Regions from separate parts of the Homo sapiens genome. Here regions 2 and 3 are each linked to region 1. The links are contacts of gene promoters, found by promoter capture Hi-C in blood cells and fetal thymus (Javierre and others, 2016). All regions are on one chromosome and are shown on one strand. Each heading gives the region's core, a stretch centred on a gene start or on the middle of the fragment in contact. The rest is flanking DNA. Distances are from core to core; before and after follow the strand shown. Region 1 holds the start of TGM5 (transglutaminase 5). Region 2 overlaps EPB42 (erythrocyte membrane protein band 4.2). Region 3 has its middle 4.3 kb from the start of EPB42.

Region 1 (3,218 bases), core at 472-2,971:
TAAGGTTAAACCAGGATTCCTGAGCCCAGTCCAGTGCTCTTCCCATCACCCCCAAGAGCTGTTGCCCACTGTTGGCTTTCACTCATGATCAAAAAAATGTCCACACCCACTGCCAGCTAAGAAAGCACTTGGCTTTTACCTAACAGTGGAAAAAGAAGCTTGCCCCCTTTGGAGACCAATTTATTAGACAGCACTAACTGGCTACAGTTCAGGTTGGGCACATGACGCAGGCTACTCAGCAGGCATGGCAGCATCTGCCTGGCAGCAAGCGCTGGGACAAAATTCCATCCTCTAGAGACATCCTGGGCCATGTTAATCTCTGCCTAAGACAGGAATGACTCTTCAGCCCAGGTGCCATCTATTCAAATAGGAGGTTCATTGACTACTGGGCATATTTGTTTTCCTTGAGGTGAGAGGAGAATGGGGTGAGATGATCAGGAAATAAACAGAAGACTGTAGAAAGAACTTTTAAAGTAAGTGATCTTAGTAGTTATCCTAGAGAGACACTCCCACGTGAGCACACAGAGGCATGGATAAGTATGTTCCTTGCAATATTGCTTGTGTAACCGGAAAATTGAAAACAACCTAAATGCCCATCAATAGGGGACAGGATTAGAAATTACTTGCACTGATACTATGAGAAATATTGAGGTAGATCTATAGGTACTGACTGGCATGGACAGAGCTCCCAGACATACTGTGGAGTGAAAAAAATCAAGTTGTAGAAATATACATACAATATGATGATACCATGGATATACCAAAAAAGACCACACATGCTAATCCTATGTATTACATTGAGTAAATGTATGTCTGAGTGTAAATGTGCAGACAAAAGACAGGTAACAGTGTTTACTCTGGAGATGAGGCTGCCATTGGGGATGGCGGGCAGAGGACTATAGCTTTATCTATAATTATTTATTTATTTTACTCCAACTATGTATTCCCATATTTCTTGTGCAATTAAAAGTTATGAAAATTTTAAAACAAAAATTTAAACACAAAAAGTAATAAATAAAGGTAAGGTTGTTACAGTTGTAGAGGAAGTTGAAAGCTTATTCCTCTAAATGATTTCAACTAACGATTTAATCTTCACAGCAACTCTTTCCAGAGTGAGGGGGATGATATAGAGAGAAGGTTGGTGATGGGAAGATTAGCTAAGATCAGTAATAGACCTTCTGAAATGGAGGAAGAAGAGAAGATATGAAGATTCAGAGAACTTAAGAGCTGGAAGACAATTTCAAGATTGTCTGGTCCAATCCCTCCTTTTTCAGGCAAGGGGGTTGGAAACTAGAGGCGAAGTGACTTGTCCAATGTCAAAGGGTCAGCTAGTAGCAGAGAAGGACAGAAACCCTGACCCCCTCATCTCTGGCCCTGCCCTGTCCCACCTGGCTATGGAGGCAGGCATGTTAGCAAGCAGCTGTGTGCTGTGTTTACCTGTCTGCCTCTACGCTGTCTCCTGGTTCTCAAGCCACCAATGAATACTGAGGTTTCTGGGATTCTTGCTTTTCCTGCCTCAGTTCTGTATTTACTTCTTTATTTCTCTGAATCCACCCTCCACCCCTTGACTTCCTACAGTCTCTCTCTGTCCTTCTTATCCCTGAACTCCAGTGGCCACAGGGGCTTTCCCTACCTTGGGCCATGGTAGCTGCCTCCGGTTCCTGGGATGCTCCCCACAGAACAGCTGGGCGGTCTGGAGCTTCAGCAAACTGGTGCCAGAGTGTCTACTTCCCCTTCCATTGGAAGCCTCCAGGAGAACCGAAGGCGGGGCTGGACTGCTGCACTGCCACCTGATTACCGAGCAGATCACAACTGGTTTGCTCACTTGCCCTCAGGTTTTTCTTGGCAGTGTTGCTGAATTGAAAGGAGGTGTGGAGGCTGATGAACTGTCACAGCCTTATGCCGTGTGGGCCTTTGATAGCTCTTGAGCAATAGGGCATTCCCAGGGAGGTGCTGTGCTGTGGTGGAGAAGTCAGGAGGGAGAAGCGAGCTGATGGGCCCGCCAGAGGGATGCAGGGGGCTGCTGGAAGGAGCATCAGGGTCCCAAGACTCTGCTCACAGCTTAAAGCACCTCATTGAGCCGAGAACCCTGCTAGGTAACCAAGGCCTCTCTTTTATCCTGAAAAGTCACTTCCTGAACATTAAATGCAAACAGAACCCTCTCTGTCTGGATCTCCTTCGGTATGATTTCACTGTATTTAGCTTTGGCAGTGGCATTGTCTTGCATGAGACCTGGCAGGTCCAAGACAAATCACAAATAAAAGCAAATAATCACAAATAAAATAGAGGAAGAAAAATTGGGAAGATTTGTGGAGGAGGTGTGGAAATAGGTGAGAGGGTGGGAATGCCGGTGAGCAAGGGCCTTGATCCTAGTAAGAAAGGCACAAGCCCTTTCATAGGGAGAAAAGCGCAGGTGGAAGGAGAGAGAGGGCAGGAGGGGGAAGGGCTCTGCCTGTGGAGTGGGTGGGACCCCCATGCCTACCCTGTCTTTCTGTGCTCTGGGGCACTTCTCCCCACATCCCCTGCTTTCTGGGTCCTTCTCCCTGGGGAACCTCTTTCACCAGCATTGTCCTCCCTCCTGTATTTTCAATTCTCTCTGTCCCCACTCAGCTCTTTTTTAAAACCTATGTAATTATTTTTATTTTTAATGTCCAGAATGTGTACTATAAGGGCCAGGGCTTCTTCCTGGACTTAATTTTATAAATTCTTGATTGGTTGGTGAGACCAATAGCGATACTTTTTCTTGTCTAATTTGGTTTCCGGGAAAGCTTCGTTCAAGTCGTCAATGGTCATCTGATCAAATGGTATTAAGTTCCTCATCTTCTCCAGCTGTTTCTCATATTCTCCAACCTGGCCTTTGAGAGAGACACCCACTCAGCACAAGTTTTCCCATCTTCTTTTTCTTCAGCATCCACCTGGGCAGTATATTTATCCTCTGGTACAGGAAGCTTCAGGACATTAAACTTCTTCTCAAAGTCATCCACCAAGCCTGCCTTGGCCACATTGGCCTTGTAGTAAGTCCAGTCAATAGCTGGTGGATTCTCAGGTAAAGTAGCCAGCCTGGAGGTGAGGGTCTCATTCCAGGATTTCAGATAATTAGCAATGGCCTTTTGGTTTTGGGGTATCATCTCTGCAAAAGCTACCCAGTCAATGGTTTTTAGAGCAAGTTTTCACCCAGCCATCTTGGTATACTTCACTGACCATGGCAGCCCATGGCC
Region 2 (3,218 bases), core at 532-3,031, 61 kb before region 1:
ACCTCGTGCCCTTTCTGCTGACCTTGCTGGGTGCCCCCTTTCTTTGACTATTTGACCTCCCTTACTCTGCTTTTCCTCTGATCGCCCCCTAAATGCTGCTGCTGCTGCTGGGTTCCCTCCTCACCCTCTCATCTACTCACTGACCTCTCCCCACTGCCATGAGCTCATCTATGCCCTGACTCTTTGTTGGCCCCCCTGTGCTGGGATTTCCACGTCTGAGCTCCAGCCCAGAACTTTATCTTACCAAGGTCTCCTGCCACCTGCTGGCCAGCTCCACTTGCGTGTGTCACGGGCTTTCAGACACAATGTGCCACAACCAAATCCATCCTTTTTCTCCCCAAACTTGCTCCTCCCCATTTTTCCTATTCTAGTGACTCACCCAAACCAGAAGCACCCACCACACACATATACACATTCACACATTCACAAGCCCCATCTATCTCAACTCCTTAATATGTTTTAACTCTAAGTGCTGCTAGCTTAGTTTGGCCTTGATTTCTTGACTTGATGATTTACACAACCTTCTCATCTTCAATCCAGTGGTTCTCAAGACTGGATGCATGTTAGAATCAAGTGGGGAGCTTTACAAAACAATCCCAATGCCAGGCCACACCCCAAATCAGTTACATCAGACTCTGGCGATGAAGCCCAGACATCAGTATTTTTAAAAGTTCCCCAGATGATCGGAGTCTCTGAACCTACTCTGGCTCAGAAGGCTGCCCCCTCCGCCCCCCCCCCAAAAAAAAGTTCCCAAGATGACTCAATGTGCAGCTAAGGTTAAGAAGCACTCTTCTTATATGACCCCTTCCATTCCATTCTGCCAAAAGTTCTTTCTTGTTAAAATGAATTTCTGATTCCATTGACTACCCTGGTTGAAACCTTCCACCAGTTTTCCATTACCCAGAGAACAAAACTCAAACTCCTTAGCAAGAGAGACAAGACCCTGTGTCACCTGGGCCCTGTCCAGTTCTCACGCCACTCTCCCAACTCCACTCCTCCCATGCTTGGAAAGGGAAGAGTGATACAGAGACTGGAGGTGAGGTGACCGGTTAGAAGGCTGTTGCAATGCTGTAGACAAGCTCTCGTCAACTGATTCTCACACTTGTCTGCACATCGGAATTACTTCAGTTTTTAAAAATTCTGATGTGTTCCACCATGGAGTTTTTGTTTTTTTTCTTTTTGAGACGGAGTGTCACTGTGTCACCCAGGCTGGAGTGCAGTGGCATGATCTTGGCTCACTGCAACCTCTGCCTCCTGGGTTCAAGCGATTCTCCTGCCTCAGTCTCCCCAGTAGCTGGGATTACAGTTGTGTGCCACCAAGCCTGGCTAATTTTTGTATTTTTAGTAGAGTCGGGGTTTCACCATGTTGCCCAGGCTGATCTTGAACTCCTGACCTCAGGTGATCTGTCCACTTTGGCCTCCCAAAGTGCTGGGATTACAGGCATGAGCCACTGCGTCCAGCCCACCATAGAATCTGTCATTTAATTGGCCTGAGATGCAGGCTGAGCATCAAACTTCCCCCAGGTGATTCTAATGTGCAGCAAAATTTAAAAACAATTGTTCTGGTTCAGGGAATCTTAACTGTAGAATAACACAGGGTGTTAAAAAAAGAAAAAAACAATACCTGGACCCCATCTCAGACCAATTAAGAAAGAACCTCAGGGATGAGCAGGGCCCTTTGCACACGTTGCTCCTTCCGTCTGGAATGCCAAGACTTACTTTTCTGGCCATTACTCTCCTACTCATCCTTCCAGATTCCATGCAGTACAATTTATTTGGGGGCAGCTTATTCCAGCCTGGGGGGAGGTGCTCTCCTGCCACTGTACTCTGTTAAACTCAGCAAACACTTCTCACACTGCTACGAAGGGTCTGTTTACTTATCTGACTGCAGTTGGCATCGTGTTTTTTTCCTGCTTCAGGCCCAATAAATATGTGTTGAATGAATGAATGAGAGAGAACATGAGAGTGAGCAGCAGGGGCTCAAAGCCATCTCTAGAGACTGCAGGGGGTGCCCTGTGGCTGCTGCCTGCCCAAGGCAGGGGCCATGTGTGTGTGTGTGTCGGGGGGTGTCTGGTGGGGCCATAGAGCATTACCCAGGTTGGCACTGAGCGTGAGGTGCAGCTTCTTCCTCCAGAGCTTGGCAGCAAGGACACCGTTGTAGTGTACAGCCTGGACCCCAATTGCCAGCTGCACTGCCTTCTCCTGCTCACTGTGATTAACCAGCGTCACTGAGATCTGGGCATCCCCTCTCAGGGGTAGGGAGCTGGGTGCTTTCAAGAGCAGGTACAGAGGACTGGCAGTCTCGAGACTGGGAGGACGGATGCCGTTGTCTTTCTCACGTTCCATTTTCTCTTTCTCGACTCTCTCCAGCACCTCTTTTTCCTGAAGAGACCCTGGAGAAGGGAAGAAACAAAGCTGACCTTTTACCCGGGTGGTATAAATGCTTCTAATAAAACCCTGGGAATCAAAACCATTTACCCACTTCTGCTCAAATGCCAAAGTCACAAGAACTCAGCAAGCCTCTAAGGCCATATTTAGCCCAAAAATGTCTGTGTCAGGCAGCTCCACCACCGATACAGTGTGTCTCTTCCAAACCACTCAAGGACCAAGTTCTTTTTCAAGTGCTATGAATTCTCCCCTTGAATGATGAGAGAGCAAGGTTGGGGACAAGTCAACACTGTCTCTGAGGACAGTTTTGCAGGGAACTGAATTTTCCTATGTGAAAGAATTTAGACTTCCTCTGAGGGTCAGGAATGCTGCTAAATGTCCTAGGGTGCACAGCCTGTACAACAAAGACATATCTGGGCCCAAATGTCAATGGTGTCAAATGGGGTTGAGAAACCCTGTTTTATATGATGCGGAAAGGACAAGTCTCTTTCTGGCTGCATCTACCAGGCCCATCCCTTTCCCTCGCTTGCCGTTTCAGGTACCGAGAAGCCTGGGGCCCTTCCCTGGCCCGTACCTTCAGGATACTTGTAGTTCTGAGTGATGTCCTCGCAGCGGTCACTGCCCACACCCTTGGTGCTGATGTTGTTGCCAACATACTTTGTGTTGGAGTCAGTCAACTCCAGTGTCCCATCCTCACAGCACTTCCAGACCACACATGAGGCATTTATGGCAGCAAAAAGGTCTGACACTGCTGGGGTCAGCCCCAGCGTCCCCTCCTTGACTGCTCTGACCGGCACCAGATCACAGGACCCCAGGACTGAGGGAGAGAA
Region 3 (3,218 bases), core at 522-3,021, 41 kb before region 1:
TGGCTCATGCCTGTAATCCCAGCACTTTGGGAGGCAGGTGAATCACTTGAGGTCAGGAGTTCGAAACCAGCCAGGCCAAGATGGTGAAAACCAATCTCTACTAAAAATACAATAATTAGCCAGACATGGTGGTGGGTGCCTGTAATCTCAGCTACTCAGGAGACTGAGACATGAAAATCGCTTGACCTGGTGGGTGGAGGTTGCAGTTAGCCAAGATCATGCCACTGTATTCCAGCCTTGACAACAGAGCAAGACATTGTCTCAAAAAAATAGAAATAAATAAATTAATTAATAAATAATTGGTGCAGCCTCTCCAAATTTGTGCAGCCTCTACGGAGAGTGTTAGTCAGACTGGGTGGCTTAAACAACAGATATTTATGTTTTCACCCTTCTGTAGGATGGAAGTTCAAGATCAGGGCCTTTAGGCTTGGTGTCTGGTGAAGGCTCTCTTCCTCACATGCCCTCTTCCCTGTGTCCACGCGGAAAGAGAAAGATCTCTGGTGTCTTTTCCTTTTCGTCTTCTTATAAGGACATCATTCCTATTGGATTGAAGCCCATTCTTATGACCCCACTTCACCTTTATTACCTTCTTATAGGTCCCATCTCCAAATACAGTCACATTGGGGGTTAGGGCTTCAACATATGAATTTTTGGGGAGGACACAATTCAGTCCAGAACAAAGGGAAATTAAGTGGTTTCTACCAAAACTTTAAATGTCTATACTTTTTGCTGCTCTGCCTATGGATTAGCCATTCTTTATTCCTTTACTTTCTTAATAAACTTGCTCTCACTTAAAAAAAAAAAAGTCTATACTTTTGATTCAGCCATTCTACTTCTAGGTATTTATCATACAAATGATCAAACAGGTGTAAAATGAAATTTATACAAGTATATTCAAGGCATTGATATTTATAATAGCCAAATACTAGAAACTACCTAAACATCCATGCATAAGGTATTAGGTAGATAAATTATGGAACATGCATTCAATAAAATACATAAAGGTGAAAAAGAATGAAGTAGCTCTATATAAAAGGATGTGGAACAATCTCCAAGCTTGATTTGTATGTTTGTTTATTTGTTTTGAGACAGGGTCTTGCTCTGTCACCCAGGCTGGAGTGCAGTGGTGCAATCATGGCTCACTGCAGCCTCAACCCCTGGGCTCAAGTGATCCTCCCACTTCAGCCTCCAGAGTAGCTGGGACTACAGGCATGTGCCACTACATCTGGCTAATTTTTATTTTTTGTAGAGATGGGGTCCCACTATGTTTCCCAGGCTGGTCTTGAACTCCGGTGCTCAAGTGATCCCCCAGCCTTGGCCTCCCAAAGTGTTGGGATCACAGGCATGAGCCACCGCGCCCAGTCCAAGCTGTATTGTTAAGTGGAATAAGCAAGGTAGAGAACAATGTGAATAGTATACTATCTTTGTGTAAAGGGTATGTGTGCGTGGGGAGAATATATATGAATTTGCTTGTGTTTATATAGACTATTTCTAGAAAATTATTGCTTCTAGATAGAGACATCAGTGCCTAGGCACAAGGCTTTTTTCTATATACCCTTTGTATCTTTGTGCCATGAACTTGTATTTATGTGTTAATATTTTTAAAGTAACAAAAACTTTTAGGGGAAAGAAAAGTCTGGCTGAAAGAACTATTTTCACCACAGAGGGCCCCTTACCTAGGAGAGCAATGGGGAGGTTGTGGGCTGGTCTCCCTTTGGGGAATGTGTTCTCCTTCTGGTTCTAGCAAAGAGAATCTTCTCTTTCCCGGTACAGTTCCCATGAGAGCTTCACAGAGATCCAGTCTCTGGCAGTATTTCAGTCGGGGCACTTTCTGAGGTACCGTTAGGAACTGTTAGGAACCGCGTTAGATACTGGTGGTACAGCAGTAAAGCTCTATAGACGCGTCTCTGCCACCAAGGAGCTTCTATTCCAGCAGGGGGAGACAAACAATACTAAGTGCGTACACCATTAGCTATTTCTCTGTCAAGTGTGCCAAATGCTGTAAAAAAGAAGTTTGAGTGCTCTTGGACCCAGGTGTGGACGGTCAGGGTAGGCTTCTCTCAGAAGGTGATATTTAAGGGAGGATAAATAGGAGTTAGCTAGCTAATAGTGTGTCCGGAATTGGTGGGTACTTGGTCTCACTGACTTCAAGAATGAAGCCGCCGACCCTCGCAGTGAGTGTTACAGTTCTTAAAGGCCGCGTGTCCGGAGTTTGTTCCTTCTCATGTTCTGATGTGTTCGGAGTTTGTTCCTTCTGGTGGGTTCGTGGTCTCGCTGGCTCAGGAGTGAAGCTGCAGACCTTCGCGGTGAGTGTTACAGCTCTTAAGGGGGCGCGTCTGGAGTTATTCGTTCTTCCTGGTGGGTTCGTGGTTTCGGGGGCTTCAGCAGTGAAGCTGTACACCTTCGCGGTGAGTGTTACAGCTCATAAAGGCAGTGTGGACCCAAACAGTGAGCAGAAGCAAGAGTTACTGCAAAGAGGTAAAGAACAAAGCTTCCACAACACAGAAGCAGACCCGAAGGGGTTGCCACTGCTGTCTAGGGCAGCCTGCTTTTATTCTCTTATCTGGCCCCACCCACATCCTGCTGATTTGTCCATTTTACAGAGAGCCGATTGGTCTGTTTTACAGAGAGCTGATTGGTCCGTTTTGACAGGGTGCTGATTGGTGCGTTTACAATCCCTGAGCTGGACACAAAAGTTCTCCAGGTACCCACTAGATTAGCTAGATACAGAGTGTTGATTGGTGTATTTACAAACCATGAGCTAGACATAAAGGTTCTCCAAGTCCCCACCAGACTCAGGAGCGCAGCTGGCTTCACCCAGTGGATCCCGCACTGGGGCCGCAGGTGGAGCTGCCTGCCTGTCCTGCGCTGTGGGCCCGCTTTCCTCAGCCCTTTGGCGGTCGATGGGACCGGGCGCCGTGGAGCAGAGGGCGGCGCTCCTTGGGGAGGCTCAGGCATGGCGGGCTGCAGGTCCCGAGCCCTGCCCTGCGGGGAGGCAGCTAAGGCCCGGGAGGAATCGAGAGCAGCACCGGTAGGCCGGCAGTGCTGAGGGACCCGGCGCACGCTCCGCAGCTGCTGGCCCGGGTGCTAAGCCCCTCACTGCCCGGGCCGGCAGGGCTGGCCAGCCGCTCCGAGTACGGGCCCGCCAAACCCACGCCCACCGGGAACTCTAGCTGGCCCGCAAGCGCCGCGCGCAGCCCCGGTTCCCGCCCGTGCCT

The links. Contacts are between HindIII fragments. The CHiCAGO score rates a contact against its expected background, and 5 or more counts as called.
Region 2: a fragment that was not itself captured here is called in contact with the fragment with the promoter of TGM5 in region 1 in 2 of 17 cell types (megakaryocytes and erythroblasts); the score reaches 8.9 in megakaryocytes.
Region 3: a fragment that was not itself captured here is called in contact with the fragment with the promoter of TGM5 in region 1 in 1 of 17 cell types (megakaryocytes); the score reaches 19.2 in megakaryocytes.

Annotation. Positions count from the first base shown.
Region 1 is chr15:43,265,207-43,268,424 of GRCh38, forward strand. It overlaps TGM5 (transglutaminase 5), which reads right to left and starts at 1,722. Exons shown (of 13, transcript NM_201631.4): 1 at 1,634-1,722. The coding sequence starts at 1,643. It also overlaps the pseudogene ATP5PDP1. The HindIII fragment of the contact is 1,714 bases long and covers 1,053-2,766 here.
Region 2 is chr15:43,204,237-43,207,454 of GRCh38, forward strand. EPB42 (erythrocyte membrane protein band 4.2) reads right to left here. Exons shown (of 13, transcript NM_001114134.2): 9 at 2,963-3,205; 10 at 2,094-2,393. Among named protein-coding and RNA genes, the nearest start is that of EPB42, 15 kb to the right of the region's middle. RefSeq lists a silencer at 55-349. The HindIII fragment of the contact is 3,657 bases long and covers 1-3,218 here.
Region 3 is chr15:43,223,710-43,226,927 of GRCh38, forward strand. It overlaps a transcript of EPB42 not described here. Among named protein-coding and RNA genes, the nearest start is that of EPB42, 4.3 kb to the left of the region's middle. The HindIII fragment of the contact is 1,435 bases long and covers 1,055-2,489 here.